6 separate regions of the Homo sapiens genome follow, and all the other regions are linked to region 2. Evidence: promoter capture Hi-C in human tissues and cell types (Jung and others, 2019). All regions are on one chromosome and are shown on one strand. The core of a region is centred on a gene start or on the middle of the fragment in contact, and the rest is flanking DNA. Distances in the headings are between cores, read along the strand shown. Region 1 overlaps GMDS-DT (GMDS divergent transcript). Region 2 holds the start of FOXC1 (forkhead box C1). Region 3 overlaps GMDS-DT (GMDS divergent transcript). Region 4 overlaps GMDS (GDP-mannose 4,6-dehydratase). Region 5 overlaps GMDS-DT (GMDS divergent transcript). Region 6 has its middle 180 kb from the start of GMDS-DT.

Region 1 (2,700 bases), core at 195-2,694, 650 kb after region 2:
AACTGCACTAGCTAGGACTGCTAGTATGATGTTGAAAAAGAGTGGCAAGAGGGATCACCCTTGTCTTGTTGCTAATCTTAGCCAGAAAGCTTCTAATTTCTCACTATTAAGCATGGTATTAACTGTAGGGCTTTAAACAGATATATTATTTAGCAGGTTTAGGAAGCTCCCCTCTATTCTTAGTAGGCTGAGTGTTTTTATCATAAACAGGCAGTGGATTTTGTCAAATGTCTTTTCTGTGTATATTGATAAGATCATATGATTTTCTTTTTTAGCCAGTTGATGTGATGGACTACCTTAATTGATTTTTGAATGTTGAGCCAGCCTTATGCATGTGGGATAAACCCCTGTTGATCATGGTATGTATTTCATTTTATACAGTGTCAGCTTTAGTTTGCTGGATTTTTAAAATATGAAATCTCTTTTATAATTTCATCAGGATATTGGAATAAAAAAGATGTAGATGCATATATTCAGTCATTCCTTTTGAACCAGTTATATTTCTAAAAGCTTAACAAAAGTCTGGAGAAATCTCTTTTATGTTCTGAGGAGTTAAAAATTATATTACAAGGAAGCAACAAGAGAAAAGACTTATCCCCAATTGTTCCTGGTGCCTATTATTGCTTAGTAAACCACCCCAAAACTTGGTGATTTAAACAACAATGGTCATTTATGTTGCCTGTTAATTGCAATCTGGGCAGGGCTCTGCAGGGAAGGCTCATCTCTGCCTCACAGGGACATTCAGTGGCTGGAAGGTCCACCTCCAGGCTAGCTAACACACAGTTGGCAAGTCGGTACTCACTGCCTCTGTGTGGGAGCTCAGCCACAGCTCAGAGCTAGGCATTCTCACAGCACAATGGCTGGTTCCCAAGGCCAAGTATCCTGAGAGAGAGCTAGGTAGATGTTGTATTGCCTTCAGCTGTACTTTGTTAGTCAAGGCAGTTGCAAAGTCATGTGCAGGCTGAAGGGGAGGGAACAGAGACTCCATGTGAGGACACAAGAAGAAGGCAGCCATCTGCAAGCCAGAAAGTAAGGCCTCACCAGAAACCAAATTTTCCAACACCTTAATCTTGGACCTCTTGCCTTCAGAACTGTGAGAAAATAAATCCTGTTGTTCAAGCCATGCAGCCTGTGGTACATAGTCATAGCAGCCAGAACACATTAAGACAAACCCCGTTAGGCCTTGAATGCTAATGTCAGGCAAAGACCTAGCATATTAAGGCCGTTTTTAGACAGAGAGCTTTTTTGACTACCACAGTGGTAAATGGAGCATGCCAGTCATGTAAAGAGGCCCATAGGGTAGAAATCCCTGCCATTCTAGTATTCTTACGACAAGCTGACTATATGCAGGCAGAACAAAGGGACAGATGCCCCACTAGTGATTAAGGAAACAATGTGCCTTGGGGAGACGGGAAGGCTCTAGAATGGTATGAGCACCTTCAGATGGATAGGCTTGGATTCTAGAAATCCTTATGTGGATGGGTAGAGCCCAAATGGCCAGCACCTCCACTCATGCATGAGACCAGTGCATAAGAGATACACATCATAGAGTTTTCATCTGCTACTGGGGTCTGGCTCTTACACCTGTATGAACATGTGTAGAGCCTAGGTAGGACCATCCTATGAATGAATGTTCAGGAGTCACCCATCCCCATGAATGGAAACTAGGACTGATGGAACTAGGTATTTCCTGAACACTCAAAGTGGATCAACCTAATAGTGAACAAAACCACATCTGACAAGGAGAAGGCATAGGGACTACCTAGTGTTAGGAAACAGTCCCCGATTTCTGACTCATCCTGCTATAAGCCAACTTCTTTCCCACAAGACAGTACAGGACACAGCCTACAGGAGGAAATAGAAGTCCTGATCTTTCTCTTTCAGTATCCTGTGCTGTCAGAGGTCACTTTAGCTAGGCTTAAAAACCAGAAGGAAAAGAATTTCAGGATGGCAAAGGGATGGGCATGGTAGTGGTAAGACGATGAGGTGTGAGGGGCAGAGGAATAAGAAATTTAATGGTTTTTATTCAGACTTTATTATTTGGGCATGAGCCATTGGTGATTAACTCAATCTCCAGCCCCTTTGCCCTCCCTGAAGGTTGGGGAGGCAGGAAGTCCATCCCTCTGATCATGCCTTGGTCTCCATTCCCCAAACCCCATCCTGAAGCTATCTAGGGCCCCCAATACCGAGTCATTTCATTAGAGAAGGACATTCATCACTCCAGAAATTCCAAGGGTCTTAGAAGCTCTTGTGTTAGAAACTGGGGACTAAGACCAAATATTATAACAAAAAGATGTTCCCAGCATTCCTATCATCCAGGCAGTTACAAAGGTTTTTGGAACTCTGTGTCAGGAATCAGGAGCAGAGACCAGGTATCTATTTCTTGTCATGTCCCACAAGAGGATGCAGAAAATCTGGGATTGTAACTGTTGATGGTTATGTAATCTCAGGAAACTTCTTTGTCCTCCATTGCTTCACAATTAAATGGGGCAGATATGCCTCCCCTCTCTCACTCTATTTCCTGAGCACACATTCCAGAATCTCAGCAAACTCTAGAGACAAAGACACAGCCCTGGCCCCCAGGGAGCAAGGTCTTAGGGTGCTGGAGAAAATTATCGTTTTTGTTCCCTTCCAATAGTGAAATCTATGATCATTAAAAAAATACAGTATACCTCCTAATTAAGCCAAGTTTCCCTTCTC
Region 2 (2,700 bases), core at 29-2,528:
TTCCCGCTCCTTCGTTTCTTTCCCTCATTTCTCTTCTTCCTGTCCCATTCCAACCACCCAGCGACGGCGAATCTCAGGCGTGTGCACAACGAGCGGGGGCCCTTCCGTGCGTGTCCCCCCAGAATCCTTGAACCGCCCTCTAGGTGCGACCCTGGACGTTCCCCCAGACACACCCGTTGTCTCTGCGAGCCGGCAGCCCCGCGCATGTGGAGATGGAGACTGGCCTGGGGAAGCGTTAAGCTCTTAGACATATTTATTTGCTTCTTGTCATCACACCTGCTAATGTCACCGAGCCCGCAGCCTGACCCCTCATCTGAGCCGAAACGGGCCTGACGGGATCAGAGGGGGCGGCGGCGCGGCGAGCCGGTGGGACCCTCGCGGGCGGGCAGGGGAGCGCGGGGCAGCAGCCGGGCTCCGGCAGCCCTCGCCGCCCGCACCCTCAGGCCGCCAAGGGCCGGCCCCCCGGGGAGGGGGGCGAGAAGCAGGGCGGCCCGCAGCGGGGCGGGCTCATCCTTCGCGGGTGAACGGCCGTCGGAAACTCCCAGCAGGGCCCCGCACCCCTTGCCTTCATTTCGGCTGGGGAGGGGTCATGGAGGGGGGCCAGATGGGCGACGAACCTTCTTCCCCACCGCGAGCAGGGCCTGGCTGTGACCGAGCCCTCAAAATCATGTCCTTTGTAGCCGAGTTCAGGACAGGAGAACCTCCAAGTGGAGAAAAGCCGGAGACGTCAGTGACCCGAGTGAGACTGGCGTTGGAGAAGGGAGGGAAGGGGCTGCGGGAGGGGAGAGGCGGCGGGGAGGAGAGGCTGGGGCAACCCCAGCGCTGGCGTCGGCGGGGCTGGCGAAGGAATGAGAGCGAGCCAGCACGAGGCGGGGCGGAGACGCCAGGGCCACTCGGGAGCCGTGGGCGAAGGAAGGGTCTGCACGGGGTCCCGGGAGGACCCAGGAAGTCTGCGCGAACGGCGGGCGTGGGTCCGGAGGGCCCGGGGTGGGAGGTCTGCCGGGCGCCGGCGGCAGGCAGGTGGACTGCGGGGGGCGAACCGACGGCGGGCCGGGCGCCGGCGCGGGCGCAGGGCCGGGGCCCGGGCCAGGGCGGCCGGCGCGCGTGTGGTCAGCCCCGCGGTCCTCCGGCCTCCGGGAGCGGGCCGGCAGGGCTCGGCCTCCGGCTCATTCGGAGGCGGTTCTCACCTCCCATTGGCTGCCGCCGCTGGCGGGGCGGGGCTCCGCTGCCCGGAAAAAAGTGTAACTGCGTAAAAAAGTCCTCGCCTGGGTGACGGATGCTCAAAAGTTCAGAAGTTTTCCCAATGCTTCCTTAAGCGGCTGGCGCGCGAGAGACCGAGAAAAGGTGACGCGGGGCCCGGGCAGGCGGCCGGCGCGCGGCCCCCCCCCCCCCCGCCCTGGTTATTTGGCCGCCTTCGCCGGCAGCTCAGGGCAGAGTCTCCTGGAAGGCGCAGGCAGTGTGGCGAGAAGGGCGCCTGCTTGTTCTTTCTTTTTGTCTGCTTTCCCCCGTTTGCGCCTGGAAGCTGCGCCGCGAGTTCCTGCAAGGCGGTCTGCCGCGGCCGGGCCCGGCCTTCTCCCCTCGCAGCGACCCCGCCTCGCGGCCGCGCGGGCCCCGAGGTAGCCCGAGGCGCCGGAGGAGCCAGCCCCAGCGAGCGCCGGGAGAGGCGGCAGCGCAGCCGGACGCACAGCGCAGCGGGCCGGCACCAGCTCGGCCGGGCCCGGACTCGGACTCGGCGGCCGGCGCGGCGCGGCCCGGCCCGAGCGAGGGTGGGGGGCGGCGGGCGGCGCGGGGCGGCGGCGAGCGGGGGCCATGCAGGCGCGCTACTCCGTGTCCAGCCCCAACTCCCTGGGAGTGGTGCCCTACCTCGGCGGCGAGCAGAGCTACTACCGCGCGGCGGCCGCGGCGGCCGGGGGCGGCTACACCGCCATGCCGGCCCCCATGAGCGTGTACTCGCACCCTGCGCACGCCGAGCAGTACCCGGGCGGCATGGCCCGCGCCTACGGGCCCTACACGCCGCAGCCGCAGCCCAAGGACATGGTGAAGCCGCCCTATAGCTACATCGCGCTCATCACCATGGCCATCCAGAACGCCCCGGACAAGAAGATCACCCTGAACGGCATCTACCAGTTCATCATGGACCGCTTCCCCTTCTACCGGGACAACAAGCAGGGCTGGCAGAACAGCATCCGCCACAACCTCTCGCTCAACGAGTGCTTCGTCAAGGTGCCGCGCGACGACAAGAAGCCGGGCAAGGGCAGCTACTGGACGCTGGACCCGGACTCCTACAACATGTTCGAGAACGGCAGCTTCCTGCGGCGGCGGCGGCGCTTCAAGAAGAAGGACGCGGTGAAGGACAAGGAGGAGAAGGACAGGCTGCACCTCAAGGAGCCGCCCCCGCCCGGCCGCCAGCCCCCGCCCGCGCCGCCGGAGCAGGCCGACGGCAACGCGCCCGGTCCGCAGCCGCCGCCCGTGCGCATCCAGGACATCAAGACCGAGAACGGTACGTGCCCCTCGCCGCCCCAGCCCCTGTCCCCGGCCGCCGCCCTGGGCAGCGGCAGCGCCGCCGCGGTGCCCAAGATCGAGAGCCCCGACAGCAGCAGCAGCAGCCTGTCCAGCGGGAGCAGCCCCCCGGGCAGCCTGCCGTCGGCGCGGCCGCTCAGCCTGGACGGTGCGGATTCCGCGCCGCCGCCGCCCGCGCCC
Region 3 (2,700 bases), core at 125-2,624, 770 kb after region 2:
TGATCACTAAAGTCCCTTCTGGCTGTAGCATTCTGTGAATGAATCTATTGAATTTGTTGAAAATCCCTAGACAGATGGAAATGGAGGTTGAAAGTTTATTTAGTACAGCATTTTATGGGGGAAATCAGCACAACTGCAAGCCCTCCTCGCACTGCTTGCTGCTGCCATTTAAGCTAGTCACCTGTTTAACAATAGTAATAATTTGATTTGATCTCAAGGACAATTGAGATTGAAGGAAGGTTGTGAATTTGAGTGCAGTGTCTAAAGGATGACATCCATGTTTGTGCCTCCTCCCCCCTCAAAGCTCTTGTCTGAAACACCACTGTTCCAGAACACCTGGGGCTTCTTTACCTGAGTATTATGCTATTCTCATTAAGCACAAGAACATGCAACAATTACGTAGAAGTGTGCGTGTGGGGAAAATTGAACACATTTCACAAGGGAATGGTGAGGGAGTGGGTATACAAAGCCGGCTTTGAACCTGCAAACCCGGGCCAGCCAACATGTCACAGGTGAGAGCGTGTTAGTGAGAGGGTGATGACAGTTCTGGGACCGTTAATTCATGGATCCTCAGATACACTCGGGCAATTGTTCTGGGTTTCCGGGAGGTGCGAGGGCGTTCCTCCTCCAGGGCGCGTGCAGGCCACGCTGAGCAGCCCTGCTGAACGTCTCCCGGTGTGCCGTCTCTCTGTTTCTCTGTTCCCCTTTCCGTCTTCTCTCTTATGTTCCTACTTGTCCTTTCTTCTTGACTTCCTCCTTTGTTCCAATGTGATGATTATGGACGAGTTAGAAAGAGGTAGTAAAACAAAATGAAGATAGTCTATTCGAATATTTGGCCGCCACCACTATAGCATAATATAAAATGCAGAAAAACCAGTTGGCAACTTCTCGTTGATTTGTAGGCCGTATGACGCCCCAGGTGTCATCAGGGCAGGTGGAGAGTGTCTCCTGCATCGTGGAATAAGTATGAAGCTTTGGCTCTGGCAATGACCACAGGACGTGGCATAAAAATGAATTTTTTTGTGGGGTAGAAATCTTTCCTGTTTGTGCTAAGAGCATTTGTCCCTTGTTATACACATAACACATATACAACCTCCCCTACACCCAACACACACACAGCACATCCAAATCCAACACACCACACACACATACACATATGTACACATCCAAAACACATTGACACCACACAGACTCCACACACCACACACACTCAACCCCTCCCCACAAACTCTAAACCTCCACTATATCCCCAACACATGCACCACACCACACACAAACTCAACACACCAAACACACATACACATATAAACACACATACCCACACCCAACACACACACACCCAGCACATATACACACCACACACCCTCTACACACCACACACAAACCTCCAAATATACCCAACACACACACCAACCCAATGCATTACACACACATATACAAATATACACACACTCAGCACACACACCCAACACACGCTGACATCCCACACACTCCACAACAGACTGCACACACAACCCCCCCATATACACAACTAACACGTACACACACACCATACCACATGTATCCACCACACATGTACACATGTGCACACACACACCACACGTGTGTGCCCACTCACAGCCGGATGGGGAAAAGCAGGCACAGCCAGTCAGGGGTGAGCAGCTGAAGAACCCTGATGGGAGCAGGTAGCCTGGAGGGACGTGGGGTTAACTCTTTCCAAATAAGGAGCTTTCCAAACTGCCATTTCCGTATTCTAAGGCTTGACAGCTTTTGAAAGGATGAAAAGAGCGTGTATTTTCCAGAAATCCTTCATGTGACTATTTGCTTCATTTCAATGCCTCAGAACACCACCAACAAAAAACCCACTCACACCCTTGCTGGTGGTTGCTACAGTGCAATTGGCTGCAGGCTTTTGTTTAGAAGTTTGCAGCAGTCCGGGAAGGAGGTTTTCTTCCTCCCGGAGCTGAGAAGGCCTGTCTTCAGCACCAACGTGTCTTCTGGCCTTGCCAATAAAGAAGTAAGAAGCCACTGTGAAAAAACCATCATTCTCAACAATAGGCCAATAAACGGTTGGCAGAAATGCCATGCGCGCCCCTCCGAGGACGGGGCAGCGTGTTTGAAGAGTCACCATGGTAGTGATATTTTATGAGCATGAGTCACTTGTCTGTTTTTCAGGGAGCGCTTTGCTCGGCCCATCTCTTTTAGTACATTTCCATTTGGTGTGGTTTGGCTGCTGAGTGCAGTGTGGCAGCAAGTTACTTAAAAACATTTCACAAAAAGCCAGATTCCCCAGCGCTGGCATACCTGTGGACCACATAGATGGCTGTAATTGCAAACAGCTGCCCACCCACCCACGGAACAGTGAGAGGTCATTTTAAAACATGTTAAAAATAGCCTGCCCCAGGAGAAGCTGGTTCATTTGTTGATTCAAAAATATTTGCCACCAAGAAGCGTGTTCTGAACATATACTCCAGTTAACATTTCAGAGGTTCACTCAGGACTAGTCCAAGGTTAACTTTAGTCCAGTTGCTCTGTGTATCCATGAATTCAACTAACCATGGATGACAAATATTCAGAAAAAAAAACAATAAAAAATAACAACACAACAATAAAAACAACACAAATTAAAAGAATGCACTATAAAACCACTCATATAGCATTTACATTATATTAGGTGTTATAAGGACTTGAGATGATTTG
Region 4 (2,700 bases), core at 57-2,556, 540 kb after region 2:
TAAATGCTGGTATGACTAAGCCAAGTGTGGCAAATTCTGATTTGCAGTGTGGACACCTCCAGTTAATAGATCTATTCAGTGATTCAACATGCACCTCCAAGTCGTAAGCCGGGCAGCAAAGTATAAATATGAGACTTACAAGCATTCTCTGATCTCTGAGTTTGTATTCACATCTATCAAGTTTTTGTTTGTTTGTTTGTTTTTGTTTTTTTTGAGATGGAGTTTACCTCTTGTCGCCCAGGCTGGAGTGCAATGGTGTGATCTCTGCTCACTGAAACCTTCACGTCCTGGGTTCAAGCTATTCTCCTGCCTCAGCCTCTCAAGTAGCTGGGATTACAGGCATGCACCACCACGCCTGGCTAATTTTGTATTATTAGTAGAGCAGGTGTTTCACCATGTTGGCCAGGCTGGTCTCCAACTCCTGACCTCAGGTGATCCGCCCGCCTTGGCCTCCCAAAGTGCTGGGATTACAGGCATGAACCACCACGTCCGGCCTGAAGTTAGTCTTGATGGAAGGTTCTCAAAGACCTATTATTACATCCTGTGTATTATATCAGCTTTGTCAAAGAGGTGAAGTTTAGGAAGCTGTGTTTCATAAAAACCCCAAATCTGAGTAAGTCTATGGGAGCACCATTCACGGACATGCAGCAATACGGTAGAACACGTGAGAAACTGCTCATCTGGACTGCACTGTAACACAAGCACCCTACCCTAGAGGTACAACATGCAGGTACCGCTGATACAGCAGGCTTCCACAGCATGGTTACGAATCATCACATCAGACATGGAGAGCACCTGAGGGATCACCTAATATAACTGCTTCACCAATGAGGAAAGCAAGACCTTGATGACATAAAATACGGAAAAGAATAAAAATAGACGCACATAACATTTCTTCTGCTTGCTCAAAGTTATCCCCGACAATTTAAGATGATTAAGGGCTTTATCTTGGAATGCTTAGCTCACAGAAAAAAAAGGTAGGCAACTATATATTCTTATTAATTGGAAAAATCATTGAACAGCCAGTGGTTTGATTTGAAGAGAGCATCAGTTTTGTTGATTTCATTAAAATGAATGTAAAGAGAACAAGGTGTATTGACTTTTTATTTTTTTAGCCACACCACCAGCAAATACTGCATCACTTACATGTGTGTTTCCTTCTGTCTGGAAATCCTGGGTGGACAATTTAACTGCCACAGAACTCCCATGAACAGGCACACACAATAAACACGCACATAAGGATTATGTGAGGCGTCTACCACAGAATGGCTTTTTCAGCCACCTGAACCTAGGTCCATTAAAAGAAACTAGGCAGCGTGGAGCAGAGCAGCTGTCCCAACACAGGCAGTAATGGAGCTGACAATATTCCCACGCCAGTTCTGAATCCAGTCTATTTTATGCTCTTGCGTGGATTCAAGGAAACAGAACTACTATTTAAAAGTGCATTTACAAAGAGGGCTTTAAAAAGCGTTAGAATAAATTACTTTGAAGTGTATTTCTACAACACGCCTCCAGCTTTCCCTTCTTTTCCTATTTGCTCGTCCCCAGAACCCAACGGTGACTATATTTAACTGACTTTACAAGCTGTGGGGAGACTGAGTACACACAGCAGATTCCAGCCAGGATTGTGTGCATTAACTAAGTCCCAAGGTTTTTTGCTTGGGAGCTTTCTCTTTCTTTTTTTCATCTTCTTCACATGTCTTAAAATTACCTTATATCCTGGAAATAACAGAAAAATTTTAAAAGACCCTCTATTTTGGTTTGCTGTATAGGTTGAGTCCTGATATTTTTAATCATATTAACAATATGCTCAAGGCAAACACTGCCACGACCCAGTATTCTTACAGTTTGTAAGTATTTTATTATTTCCTTGAAAAAACACTCATTCCATCTAGTACGTATTGTGAGAGAAGATCAAGTACTTGTAAAATAATTTTCATTTAGGAACAGGTATATACAGATTAACGGTATTTGGAACTGACTAGAATGACAATGAAATCACCAACTTCTGATCAAGGTGAAATAAATTAATGATTTCACTAAGGCCAGATGCAGTGGTTCATGACTCTAATCCTGGCATTTTGGGAGGCTGAGGTGGGACCATTTGAGCCCAGGAGTTCAAGAAAAGCCTGGGCTACACAGTGAGACTCCTTTCTATTTTAAAAAAATAAAAATTTTTAAACATAAAAATAAAATTTCACTAAGTGGAATGCCTCTGGCTATAAAGTCTACCTCTCCCACTAACACGAAACTATCTCCATGGAATTCTAGGGATGTGGATTCCAGTATCAGATTAGCTTTACCATTTATAACAATGTCCTGTGGGAAAACCACTAACTTCTTTTGGCTTCAGTTTTCTCATCTATAAAATTAGGGCTTCACACCCTAAAGTAATCTCTAAAATTATTTCCACCTATAAGAAGCAATTATTTCAGATTAAGAATCCACAACAATCTTAAACTAAAGAATATTTAAAAGATGGGGTGTTTCTGCAAACTTTGAAGATTTTGGCCATAAACTGAGTTCTAATTACTCAGTAAATTTAAAAGTGCTTAGGCTGACTACCACTTCTGTTATCAACACTTCTATCTTTAATTATATGATACCTAATACAAGCTATCTCTATTCCACAAAAATTTATACAGACCACAGTCAAAGTTCACAGCTTCTAGCTAATTTGAATATTTGGAAATTATGAAT
Region 5 (2,700 bases), core at 198-2,697, 800 kb after region 2:
TAGAGCTACATTACAGTTCAACTTCTCCTTCTCCTCCCTTTCACAGTTGCTGACCCTAATAAACACTGTATTCCAAGGTCTGACCCTGTGGCTGCTTCCAAAGCACCCAATCTGCAACATGTGTGGGTGTGTCTGCATGTTCTGCTGCTACTTGCTCATGTTCCTGGCTCTTGTTCCTTGTTTCCTTCTGTATTTCTGTTTCTTGAGACTTTATCTGTTGAAATTCTTTGAGATTGAGTTGAGGTTGGGTTCCTTTTGAGAGTACAGATGGTCCCTGACTTATGATGGTTTGACTTCACAATTTTTTGACTTTACTATGGTGCAAAAGTGATATGCATTCACGGAAAACTGCATGATCCTCTTTTGAGATGCTAGGCAGTCAGCCAGGGGATCATGATCGTAAGGGCAAACAACTGATAAGTGACAGTGAGCTGTGTTGTCTGTTGCCCAGCTGCAGGCTAATGTAAATTCTGAGCACAACGAAGGTGACTAGGCCAAGCTCTGATGTTTGGTAGGCTAGTCATATTAAATGCATTTTAGACCTATGATATTTTCAACTTACAATGAGTTTATCAGGAGGTAACCTCATGGTAAGTCGAGGAGCACCTGTATATGACATTTCTTCTAGAAGTCACCTGGGGCATGACCAGCTTGAGACCAATTTGTCTGTTTTTTCAAAACACAGACATAGTGTGTATTGGCTGAAAACCCATATGAGTGGGGATTGTAGTTAAGACTTCTCAAGATAGGCATGTTCTTTCTTTCCCCTTCTTTGCTAGTCTGTTTCCTACTTACCCTTATACTAAGGCTATAGATGTTCTAGGCTTCACTTGGTGGGGCAGTCTCTCCACCTTGGGTGGGCTTAATTTTCTGTTTCTCATGCCCCTGTAGCTCTCAAATGGAAACGAAAGGTCATCAGAGTTCAGTACTTAGTTTTGGGTGGAGGCTGCTTTGGATCTTCCTTACTTTCCGTAGTTCCCAGGCTCAGTATCTTACTTTGAAACTGGAAACTCCTGCTTCCAAGTTTCAGAGTAAGATAGATGCCTCACTTTATTGCTGGCATGTTGATTCACTAAAATGTTATTTTCTTTTGTTTCATATTTATCCAGTTTCATTTATTTTCCTTTTCTGAAATTGGGGCTGGGTCATTTAGGGTTTCTAGTCCACCAGACTTGGAAATAAATGTCTGGAGTCACGTTTAAGTGGACTTTACCTAAAAGGGCCACCTGGAGAGCCAGAGACCCGACCGGGGAGAGAGTTTGTGTTGATTGGACCATCAGAAACAGAGTTAATAGGGAGTTGTAAGTGGCTAAACATGGGAAGCAGGGAGCTTTTTGAGAGATCCACAGTTATGCAGAACGTCTCTTAAATGTACTCCAGGAAAAATAGTCAGTTTTGGGGGTCCCCAAGACAAGGGAGCACTATTAGAAGGTGGAGGCACTGTCTGCCAAATCAGAGCTTCCCTGGCCTTGGCTTTCTCCCAGGAGGAGCCAGAGGAGGATTTGTGAGGAGGGGACAGTACAGAAGCATGAAGCTTAGAAAGACAAGAGACCCCTGCCCACTCCAAGGCCTCCAAGGCAAAGCCGAGAGTGGGGAGAAGCTTTAAGTAAAGTTCAGAATTTTGATTAAGACAGAGGAACAAGTACACCAATGGCAAAAAGAAGACCACTCTTGTATATTCTTACAACTATGGTTGTACCCAATCTCCCTTCCAGAGGAGGGCAGGAACAAATTCCACAGGACAGGTTGAAATGAGGGGTGCATAGAATAAAGGCATTTCCTGGTAGAACCTTGTGAATCCTCTCTTTTAACATGGAAACTGCCTAGGATTCATGCCAGAATACCAAGTAGTTGGAGGGATAAGAGTAGGTAAGGAAAAATGGGGTTTCAGTATGCTTTTTTGTTTGTTTGTTTTTGAGACAGGGTCTTGCTCTGTCACCCAGGCTGGAGAGCAGTGGTGCGATCACAACTTACTGCAGCCTTGACCTCCCGGGCTCAAGCAATCCTCCCACCTCAGCCTCCCAGGTAGCTGGGATTACAGGCACACTCCATCAGGCCCGGCTAGTTTTGTATTTTTAGTAGAGATGGGGCTTCACCATGTTGGCCAGGCTGTTCTCAAACTCCACCCACTTTGGCCTCCCAAAGTGCTGGGATTACAGGAGTGAGCCACCGTACTTGGCCATTTTTTGTTTGTTTGTAGAGATGGAGTTTCACGGTGTTACCCAGGCTGGTCTTGAACTCCTGGGCTCAAGCAATCTGCCCATCTGGGCCTTCCAAAGTGTTGGGATTACAGGCGTGAGCTACTGTGCCCGGCTGCTCTTTATTTAAAGTAAGGGGGATTTGAGTACATTTCTCTGTGGTTGAGAATGAGCCTGTATAGAAGGAGACGGTGAAGGAAAAGGAGAGGGAGATAGTCATGAGAGGGAAAGTCCCTTGGATGCAGAAGGGTGGGCTCCAGAGTGGAGGTGAAGTAACCATAGATGAGGGGGGAGGGCACCTGTTTCATTTTAATAGGGAGGGAGAAGAAAAGGTGAATGTACTTACAGGTTAAATCTGTATATTTTGTGGGAGAAATCTGAGGGATTACTGATCTGATGACTTCTTTTCTCTTTGAATTGGGGCAGGGTTATTTTCTTAGGGTAAAGGACCAGGTGATGGGGTGATGAGTTTTAGGCAAATCAAGGCCACTTGAAAGAGCTT
Region 6 (2,700 bases), core at 110-2,609, 820 kb after region 2:
TACTTTGGTAGTATTTGGGAAATCGAGGAAGAGGAATGGAGAAAAGAGAGAATCAGGGTGATCTGGGGCTGAAGTCAGCATGGGCCAGGGCAGCAGAAGATTCCTGTGGCAAGAGGTAAAGAAAGCTACTGAGACTGTCAGAATGCAGCAGCCTCCACAGAGTGGGGAGGGACAGGAGCTGTGCTCAGGTTGGGTGGGGGTGACAGTGGGGGCAGCAGAGAGAGAAAAGTTGCATTTCCAGAGGGGAGTTTTATATTTTAGCATCTTTAGGCTCATTCTAAATTTTAGTGCAGTCTAATTCAATCAGGAGAATTGAGTCAGTAAAAAGTTAACGTTAATAAAAATTTCCTAAAAGCAATAGGCTTGCGCTACACATTACACCAGATGTCTTCATTCTATGAAGCCTTGGGGAATGGCCCTTTCCCCTCAGAGGCCACTACAAGGAGACGGGGTTTCCAAGGACCCTCCTTCCACCTCTGTCTGCTTACACATGGATTTATCTGTCTGATCGATTAGGAACCTGTAGACTGACATTTAAAGAAAGGGTACAGAATCTAAAAAGACATTAAGAGACTTCGCATGTGATTCTCAGGGATACTCCACATGGATATGCACGACCTGAGAGCTTGTTAAATGTGCAGATGCCCCACCCTCACTCCCAGGCCATCTGCTTCCTGGATTCTGGGAGACCTGATCTGCATTTCCACAAGCACAAACACGACTTCAGAAAAAGTTGGTTTAGTGGGTCCAAGAAAGTTGACACCTATGGCATGCAGAAATTGTTCTAGATGTTTGGAGAAAACAGGGAACAAAATAAAGACCCTGCCCCACGGAGTTCATATTCCAGTGAAGGAAGGCAGATAATACATTGATTATACGATCAATGAGAAGGTGGTGAGGGCAGTGACGGGAGAAAAATAGACCAGAGGGCAGGCAATGGAGGGTCATAGTAGGGACAGGCTGCAATACTAAGGAGAAAGGTCAGGTGAGGTCAAAGAGGGAATGATGGGAGCTGAGTAGGTTGGGATGGGTGACTTCTGCTTTTGCTCAGAGGGCCACAGAAAGCCATCTGAGAGTGCTCAGCAGAAGACTGAATAACCTGCAGAACATTTTCTGAGGATAATGTTGGCTCTTGCCTTGAGAGTAGATCTGGAGGTGGGGTAGGAGTGGGGGAATCTATTAGAAGGTAATTGCAGGAATCTAGGCAAGAGATGACAGTGGGTTGGACCTGGTAGCAGCAGGGCAGGTGGTGAGAAGAGTTTGGTCCTGGGGATATCTTGAAGGTAGAGTCAGAATTCCCCATAGGTTAGGATGAGGCATAGAAGAGAAAGAAAGAGGTATAAACAACTCTAGAGATGGGTCAGCATCAACTGAAACGGGAAAGGCTGCTGGTTGGGGAGGGAAGATTGAGAGTTTGATTTTGGACACATTGAAGTTGACATGCTTATCAGACATCTGTGGGGTCTGTGGAGTGGATCGCTGAAGTTTGGGAGAGAGGTGTGGACTAGGGAGGGTCATTGGCATATAGATACTGTTTACAGCTGTGAGACTGGATGAGATCCCAAGGGGAAGGAGTGTCTATAGAGAGAGGGTGGAGGCCAAGACATGGCTCTGGGAAACTCCAACACCTGAGGTCAGGGAGTAGAGGGGAGCCAGCAGTGAAGATGGGAAGGAAAAGACCAGTGAAGTGGGGGGGAAAGTGGAGTGAGGTGTCCTGAAAGTCAAATGAAGAAAGAGAATCAAGGAGAAAGGAGTGATTGGCCATGTCTGGAGCTACTGATGAGTCAAGTAAGATGAGGACTGAGAACTGGCTGTGAAACTTTATAGTGAGAGAAAGCGTAGTATGATTGTATGCTGATAATCTGGTTGAATGGGAAAACATAGTGATGTAGGAGACAGGGAGCAATGCCTTTGAGTAGACCTGAGGATATGGGCTGGACAGTGCAAATAGAGAGCTTTGCTTTAGCAGGAGATTGTACAATTTATCTGCAATAAAGGAAGGAAGGCAGAATGCATGGGTACAGATGCTGGGAAATGGGTGGGTGAGGTGTGGGAGTGTAAGCATTCTCTTCTGGGTGCTGTGATGTTCTCAGGGAAGTAGAGTCGAGTTTCTTGAGAGTTAAGACATGATTGAGATTGTATTTTTGTTAAGGAAGCGTGACCAAGCCAGAAGAAGCAAGGAAGCTGAGGATATGTGCAAAGAAGTGATTATACCGATTTACCATGGAATGTAAACTAAGCTTCAAGGGCATCACATGGGTGTGGGCCACAGACGGCCTGGATCGCTGGGTTGGAGGTACCAATGAGTCAGCAGTATTATTGCTCTGGGAGATCAGACAGGCTGAACAAGGAAGAGAAAGTGGGGACCAGAAATAAATGTTTTTGGTGCTATTCGAAACTGTATTTTCCTTAATAGAAGATTAATTCTTCAGGAATCAGACCTTCAGTGTATGTGAATTAAGATGATAAAAGGAAAGGAAGGGACTGTTGGATCAAATAAAAAATTATTTATTCATCATTTACTTTATGCCCTGTTGTGTGCTTGCCTTTGGGGAAACTTTTAATTTAGTTAAATCTACATTTTCTAAGAATTTCTAGTGAAGTGCTAAACCAGAGTGTATTGACCATTAGAACTCCCAGTGTATAGAGAAGGTGCTGTGTTCCCACCATTCTTCAATGGGTGAGTGTTTCTTGGGGATG

What was found. The method cuts DNA at HindIII sites, captures the fragments that hold promoters and counts their contacts. A contact is called where the count stands out against the background at its distance.
Region 1: a fragment that was not itself captured here is called in contact with the fragment with the promoter of FOXC1 in region 2 in 1 of the 25 tissues and cell types used here (spleen).
Region 3: a fragment that was not itself captured here is called in contact with the fragment with the promoter of FOXC1 in region 2 in 2 of the 25 tissues and cell types used here (dorsolateral prefrontal cortex and lymphoblastoid cells).
Region 4: a contact is called between a fragment that was not itself captured here and the fragment with the promoter of FOXC1 in region 2, in 2 of the 25 tissues and cell types used here (dorsolateral prefrontal cortex and lymphoblastoid cells).
Region 5: a contact is called between a fragment that was not itself captured here and the fragment with the promoter of FOXC1 in region 2, in 2 of the 25 tissues and cell types used here (lymphoblastoid cells and mesendoderm cells).
Region 6: a fragment that was not itself captured here is called in contact with the fragment with the promoter of FOXC1 in region 2 in 1 of the 25 tissues and cell types used here (IMR-90 fibroblasts).

What each region holds. Positions count from the first base shown.
Region 1 is chr6:2,263,326-2,266,025 of GRCh38, forward strand. It overlaps GMDS-DT (GMDS divergent transcript), which reads left to right. Exons shown (of 7, transcript NR_046229.1): 3 at 276-359. Among named protein-coding and RNA genes, the nearest start is that of GMDS-DT, 19 kb to the left of the region's middle. The HindIII fragment of the contact is 4,554 bases long and covers 1-2,700 here.
Region 2 is chr6:1,608,637-1,611,336 of GRCh38, forward strand. It overlaps FOXC1 (forkhead box C1), which reads left to right and starts at 1,279. Exons shown (of 1, transcript NM_001453.3): 1 at 1,279-2,700. The coding sequence starts at 1,810. RefSeq lists a silencer at 1,087-1,706 and an enhancer at 2,037-2,136. The HindIII fragment of the contact is 11,200 bases long and covers 1-2,700 here.
Region 3 is chr6:2,375,015-2,377,714 of GRCh38, forward strand. The region is part of intron 4 of GMDS-DT (GMDS divergent transcript); the gene reads left to right. Among named protein-coding and RNA genes, the nearest start is that of GMDS-DT, 130 kb to the left of the region's middle. The HindIII fragment of the contact is 6,747 bases long and covers 1-2,700 here.
Region 4 is chr6:2,148,225-2,150,924 of GRCh38, forward strand. The region is part of intron 1 of GMDS (GDP-mannose 4,6-dehydratase); the gene reads right to left. Among named protein-coding and RNA genes, the nearest start is that of GMDS, 96 kb to the right of the region's middle. The HindIII fragment of the contact is 7,569 bases long and covers 1-2,700 here.
Region 5 is chr6:2,407,621-2,410,320 of GRCh38, forward strand. The region is part of intron 6 of GMDS-DT (GMDS divergent transcript); the gene reads left to right. Among named protein-coding and RNA genes, the nearest start is that of GMDS-DT, 160 kb to the left of the region's middle. The HindIII fragment of the contact is 3,666 bases long and covers 1-2,700 here.
Region 6 is chr6:2,427,429-2,430,128 of GRCh38, forward strand. No RefSeq gene overlaps it. Among named protein-coding and RNA genes, the nearest start is that of GMDS-DT, 180 kb to the left of the region's middle. The HindIII fragment of the contact is 5,871 bases long and covers 1-2,700 here.